2 separate regions of the Homo sapiens genome follow, and region 2 is linked to region 1. The links are contacts of gene promoters, found by promoter capture Hi-C in blood cells and fetal thymus (Javierre and others, 2016). All regions are on one chromosome and are shown on one strand. Each heading gives the region's core, a stretch centred on a gene start or on the middle of the fragment in contact. The rest is flanking DNA. Distances are from core to core; before and after follow the strand shown.

What was found. The method cuts DNA at HindIII sites, captures the fragments that hold promoters and counts their contacts. A CHiCAGO score of 5 or more calls a contact.
Region 2: a contact is called between a fragment that was not itself captured here and the fragment with the promoter of HDAC11-AS1 in region 1, in 1 of 17 cell types (naive B cells). The highest score is 6.2, in naive B cells.

The regions. Positions count from the first base shown.
Region 1 is chr3:13,478,166-13,481,327 of GRCh38, forward strand. It overlaps HDAC11-AS1 (HDAC11 antisense RNA 1), which reads right to left and starts at 1,888. Exons shown (of 2, transcript NR_046690.1): 1 at 1,478-1,888. It overlaps HDAC11 (histone deacetylase 11), which reads left to right and starts at 2,141. Exons shown (of 10, transcript NM_024827.4): 1 at 2,141-2,184; 2 at 3,081-3,162. The coding sequence starts at 2,183. RefSeq lists enhancers at 1,497-1,556, 2,206-2,862 and a silencer at 2,017-2,506. The HindIII fragment of the contact is 8,461 bases long and covers 1-3,162 here.
Region 2 is chr3:12,999,681-13,002,872 of GRCh38, forward strand. The region is part of intron 1 of IQSEC1 (IQ motif and Sec7 domain ArfGEF 1); the gene reads right to left. Among named protein-coding and RNA genes, the nearest start is that of IQSEC1, 72 kb to the right of the region's middle. RefSeq lists a silencer at 1,549-1,843. The HindIII fragment of the contact is 4,704 bases long and covers 1-3,192 here.

The sequences.
Region 1 (3,162 bases), core at 638-3,137:
TGCGGCCGGTTGGCCCAGGCTTTCATGGTGGTTTGAAGGTGTTCACAAGCTCCAGGGCCTCCGCAGACCACTTAACTCTTTAGCTACCAGGACACAATTTTAAAAACCCTTGGCCAGGCATTGTGACTCATGCCTGTAATCCCAACACTTTGGAAGGCCAAGGTGGGAGGATCGCTTGAGCCCAGGAGTTAGACACCAGCCTTAGCAATATAGTGAGGCTGTGTCTCTTAAAAAATAATTTAAAAATTAAAAAAATTTAAAAACCCACTTATTCAGACCAATCCCACTCTCTTTGGCCTCAGCTTCAGGTCCAGGCTGCCCAGATCCTCATTCTCCCAACCAGAGGATCATCTGTGTGGCTTCCCAAACTACAGAGCAAGTTCCCTGAGGGGAAGTCGGTCTCTCACAAATGCCACAGGGCCACTGCATGCACTCTGTCACTTTATAAAATAGTACTTATTCCTTCTGTGGTTTACATCTGCCCACATCCCTGACCTTTGAGTGAGTTACTTCACCATTCTGTGCCTCAATTTCTTTATCTATAAAATGGGGATGACAATAGTTTGCCTCCTAGGACTGTCAGAAGAGTTCGACAAGCAAAAAGCATTTGGACTTCAACTTAGCACATGACAGATGGTCTCTGAATAATAATCAACATTATTGTCTCTTGATTCCCTGGACTTGCCCATGAAATCCAGAGAATGAAGTGCAACCAGAACTTCATTTTCTTCCTTTTTTTTTTTTTTGAGATGGAGTCTCACTCTTGTCGCCCAGGCTGGATTGCAATGGCGCGGCCTCACCGCAACCTCCCCTCCCCGGTTCAAGCGATTCTCCTGCCCCAGCCTCCCGAGTAGCTGGGATTACAGGCGCCCTTCATCACGCCCAGCTAATTTTTTGTATTTTTAGTAGAGACGGGGTTTCACCATGTTGGTCAGGATGGTCTCGAACTCCTGACCTCAGGTGATTCACCCGCCTCGGCCTCCCAAAGTGCTGGGATTACAGGCGTGAGCCACCGCACCCGGCCCAGTACTTCATTTTCAGATGCAGACATGAAGGACCAGAAGGCTGAAGCAACCTGCCCAAAGCCACTATGCTGGCGGGTGGCCGAGTTTGGGTTTAATCCAGGCCCGAACCTCAGTTCCCTCAAGATAAAGTTGGGGTGATTATGGCACCTTTCTCAGGATTAGGTTGTGAGGCTCAGATGCCATCATGCAATCATGGCAGGCACACGGGGGCCCCTCTTCAAACGTCTGTGCGCTTCCCTTGTGCCCCGCCCTGGCACACAGCCGCCCCCGCGGAGCCCAGGGATCCCAGCCCGGCAGTCCTCCGTCAGCTGCTTCTGTTTGGATGGCGGGGACGGCTGGGCCGACAGAGAGGCCCATTGTCTCCGTCCTCTGGGGCTCTATTGTTGGGGCCTCCTCCTGGGTTGCAGCCCCACGGACAACCCCAGCTGTCGCTTGGGCCTGGCTCAGCTTACCCCGGCGGTGAGGGTGCGGGTCGGGGACGGAGACGCGTGCACCCTGAAGACAGTAACTAGGCCTGCTCTACAGAGGGAAACGCAGGCTCTGAGAGCCTACATGTCTTCGCCGGGAGTGCTTGTCCCGGAGCTGCTCGCAGACTGGGCCGGGGGTGGGCTCGGGTCGGAGAGGTCACGGGGCTCCTTAGGTCACAGGCGGCAGGGCCAGAGAAACTCCCCCGCCCCTACGTTTAACTCGCGGAAACAAGGGCCCAGAGAGCCCAGACGCCAGCCCAAGGTCACACAGCGAAGCCCCGGCACAGCCCGCCGGGAACCTGTCGTTTCTAACCCCCAGCCTCTCGCCGTTTCTACCCAGCTTGGGAAGCGCAGGAACAGGACATACGGTGGTCGCGCCCCTTCCGCGAGGCCGGGGTGAAACCCGCTTGGCCCTCCCGCCAGGGGGCGGAGCTTCCGAACCAGGCGGGATTCCACCGGGTATTTGCCTGCGGAGGCGGGACTTCGGGCTTGATGGGCGTTGGGGGTGGCCTTCCTGCGGGCAGGCTCTCTGTGTCGCAACACTGGCGGGGCGGGCCAAATCGGCCAGAGCTCTGCCCCCAGAGGACGCGGCTAAGCCCGGGGGCGTGTCCTGGGCTGGCCCCACCCGCGCCCCGCCCCGCCCCGCCCGGTCGCGGAGCTGCGGCCAGCTTTGGGAGGGCCGGCCCCGGGATGTGAGTGCCGCGGGGCGAGGGCGGGGGTGGGCTCCCAGGGGTCCCGGTGGGCGGGCGCGCTAGGGCGAGGGCGGGGACGGCCGGGCGGGCGCGCCAGGTAAGGGCCCAGATTTGCTGGTGAGGGGTGAGGGACGCTCGGGACGGGTGTTTCCAGGCCCTCCCGGCGCGCCAGGCCAGCCCCGCGCCCCTGCTCGGTGGCCCGAGGGACGCGCGCCGGCCGCGGGCCTGGGCCCGGACCCGGAGCGGTCGGGCGATGTGCGCGGGTCTGACGTCTGCGCTGCCCAGCCCCCTGGCTACGCGGACGCCCCCACGGAGGCAGCCACTGGGGCGGATTTCTGTCTCTGGGTGACGACTGCCAGGGTGTGATGGGAAGGGTTAGCAGCGCAGCGGGGTCAGGGGATCCCCGCCCCCCGCCCTGGCTCAGGTTGGGTCCCGACTTGGGTTTCTGAGTGCTTACTGTGCTCAGCTCCTCAGTTGCATTCTCTGAGTCCTCACAACAGCCACACATTTTGCAGCCGAAGCCTTGTGCCACACAGCTGTGGGGGCATTTATTACGGTGCAGAGGTGATGCGCGGAGGCCTTGCAGCCAGACACACCTGAGTGCACGCCTGCTTCTCCACAGACCTGCACTGTGACCTTGGGCACACCTGGTCTGCTCTCTGAGCCTCTGGTGCGATTGTGGTGCCTACCCCCAGGGCTGCTGTGAGGACTGGATTGGAATTGGGTTCCGGGAAAGGCAGCCAGTTTAAGCAGCTGTTGTTGAGGGGCCCTTGTCTGCGGCTGAGGGGCTAGTGGTGCTGGGCAATGGCTGGTGGGTCAGTCCAGGCGGGCTCGGGAGGGAGCTGCTTTCTGCCGAGGCTGCCCCAGCTGTGCGTCTGTCTTTTTCCACACGGTAGGCTACACACAACCCAGCTGTACCAGCATGTGCCAGAGACACGCTGGCCAATCGTGTACTCGCCGCGCTACAACATCACCTTC
Region 2 (3,192 bases), core at 357-2,856, 480 kb before region 1:
ATAGCAGGCAACTCTCAGTTCCCATTGTCTCTGCAGTTCACCATCGGTCATTACCCAGAACCTTCTGTGACTCCCTACTGCCCACCAAACCAGGTAGACACTCTTCAGGGGACATTCAAGCTCCTGTACTTTCTGGCCTCAATTTGTCCCTTCTAGCTCTTCACTCTGTCCATTATTGTCCCTTATCAAAGTAATTTTCAACAATACACATTCGATCACATCCCTTCCCTGCTCTAAACGCTTCTGTAGCTCCTATGTCCTGTGTAATAAAGTCCAAGCTCCTTAGGAACTAGCATTTGCCTCCCTGCTTAGCTCTATCTTCAACTATGTCTCTCAAAATTAGGCTAAACCTAATGCTTTTCAAGCACACTGTACTATTTCATATCATTGTGTATTAGCACATACTATTCCCTTGGTTTCCTCCATATATAAAGAGTTATTCCAAATCAATCAAAAACAAAAAAAATGAACAACTCAAAATAAAAATGTCCAATCAATTTGACCAGGTAGTTCAGTGAAAAAGAAATACAAATGGCCTGTAAACATTCAAAAAGATGTACGACCTTACACAGAAACACAAATCAAATGATAATCTCATTTTCATCCATCAAATGGGCAAAAATTCATAGAAAGCTCATGTCTCTTTGTATATTAGCTGAAGTCCAAACCCATCCTTTAAATCCAGCTCTAAAAATGTCACCTCCTCTAGACGTCATCTTCTTGGCTCCCACAGTGTCCTGTACATCTTGAGACAGTGGGGCCAGGTACAGAGCAGAAATTCTATAGATGTTAGCTATTATTAATAAAAATAACAGCTACCATGCTGTTCTGTGGTCATCAGCTAATGGTTCTGTCCACCTGCCCAGAAGGTCCCTGAAAGCAGGAATAGAGTCTGCTTCATCACTGCTTTACTAGGACGAGCACAGGGCCTGCTACAGAGCCATGCCCTGTAAGCAGACAGGTGAGGTATATGCAGCAGAGGGAAGGCTGAAGCCAGGAGCCAGCCCTCAAGGGCTGCCCTGCTGGGGAGAGTAGGCACTGTGGAGGGGAGGGCTGAAGGAGGGCCAGTTGGTGGGCACAGCCCCAGGCTTGCAATAAACACAACTTCCATGAACTGGTACCCACTTTGTGTCAGAGAGCACTGTGCCAGATACTTTATCCAAACTATCTCTATTCCTGCAGATTCTTTGAGATGGGTGGTGTGCCCTCCATTTTACAGGTGAGAAAACAGAGGCTCAGGAATGGGGAGTGACTTACCCAAGTGAGTCTTTTTTTTTTTTTTTTTTTTGAGACAGAGGCGTGTGCTGTCACTCAGGCTGGAGTACAGTGGCTCGACTTTGGCTCCCTGCAACCTCTACCTCCTGGGTTCAAGCAATTCTCCTGCCTCAGGCCTCCCAAGTAGCTGGGATTACAGGTGCTTGCCACAATGCCCAGCTTTTTTTTTAAATTTTTTTATTTTTAGTAGAGATGGGGTTTCACCATGTTGGCCAGGCTGGTCTCGAACTCCTGGCCTCAAGTGATCCGCCCACCTCAGTCTCCCAAAGTGTTGGGATTACAGGCATGAGCCACCATGCCCGATCCTAAGTGAGTTCTTATCATTACCCCACACTGCCTGTGCTGGCTTGTGGGCACTTGATAGATGCATGAGGTTGGACATTTCATGTTCCCTATCTGGAACTCTGCTCTCCCGTCTGAGAAATGGCTCTATATTAGGGGTTTCTCAAACTTAAGAACTGATGGGCCTCTAAGAATACAGTTCCCAAGCTCCATCAGGCCCCACCTTTTAGAAACACTGCATCCAGTGGTAAACGCTGCTACACTGGAAGGTCCTGTGATGACCACATGTTCATAAAGAAAAGGCAGCCACGAACATCAGGGAGCAGAGCTCAGTTGGTAGAGGGTCGTCCAGATGACCTGCAGCATGCTTTTGTTAAAATGGGGGAGGAGTTTTCGTCTTCACGAAAATGATGTTTAAAAATGTATTGTCTTGGCCTTAGCTGGAGTGGTCAAAAATAATAATAAATATTGTCAAATGATTTTTTACAAGGTGCCAAGACAATTCATTGGAAACAATCATTTCTTTAACAAGTAGTGCTGGCCGAGCGCGATGGCTCACGCCTGTAATCCCAGCACTTTGGGAGGCTGAGGCGGGCGGATCACCTGAGGTCAGGAGTTCCAGACCAGTCTGGCCAACAAGGTGAAAACCCATCTCTACTAAAAATACAAAAATCAGCCAGGCGTGGTGGTGTGCACCTGTAATCTCAGCTACTCCAGAGGCTGAGGCAGGAGAATCACTTGAACCCGGAGGCAGGGTGGGGGGTGGCAGAGGTTGCAGTGAGCTGAGATCTAGGCACTGTGCTCTAGCCTGGGTGACAGAACAAGACTCCATCTGGAAACAAACAAACAAACAACAACAACAAAAAACAAGTAGTGCTGAGACAACTGGCTATTTATACACAAAAGGATACATTTGGGCCCATGCTTCCCACCATACACAAAAATTAACTCAAATTAATCAAAGACCTAAATGAAAGAGTTAAAACTATAAAAATCTTAGACAAAAACATAAGAAGAAATCTTTGTGACCTTGGGTTATACAATGATTTCTTAGATACAACACCAAAAGCATAAGCAAGAGAATTACAAATTCATAAATTGGACTTCATGAAAATTAAAAACTTTTGCACTTCAAAAGACACCATCAAGAAAGTAAAAAGATAAGGCCCTGCATAGGCTCATGCCTGTAATCTCAGCACTTTGGGAGGCAGAGGCAGAAGGATTGCCTGAGCCCAGGAGTTCGAGACTGTAGGGAGCCATGATCATGCCATTGTATTCCAGCCTGGGTGAGTGAGTGAGACCTGATCTCCAAAAAAAAAAAAAAAAAGGAACTGAGAAACTGAGAAAATTATATAACTGATACTGGAACCTGTATGTAGAGTATGCAAATAACTCATGACTCAATAACAAGGAGACAATACAATTTTTAAATGGGCAAAAGGTTTGAATACACATTTCATCAAAGGAGACATATGAATGGCCAATAAGCACATGAAAAGATGTTCCACATCAAAGAAATGCAAATCAAAACCACAATGAGATATGACTTCCCACCCACTAGGACAGCTAGAAGCAAAAAGCCAGACAATAACAAATGTGGGACAGGATGTGGAGAAATGGAAACCCTCACACACC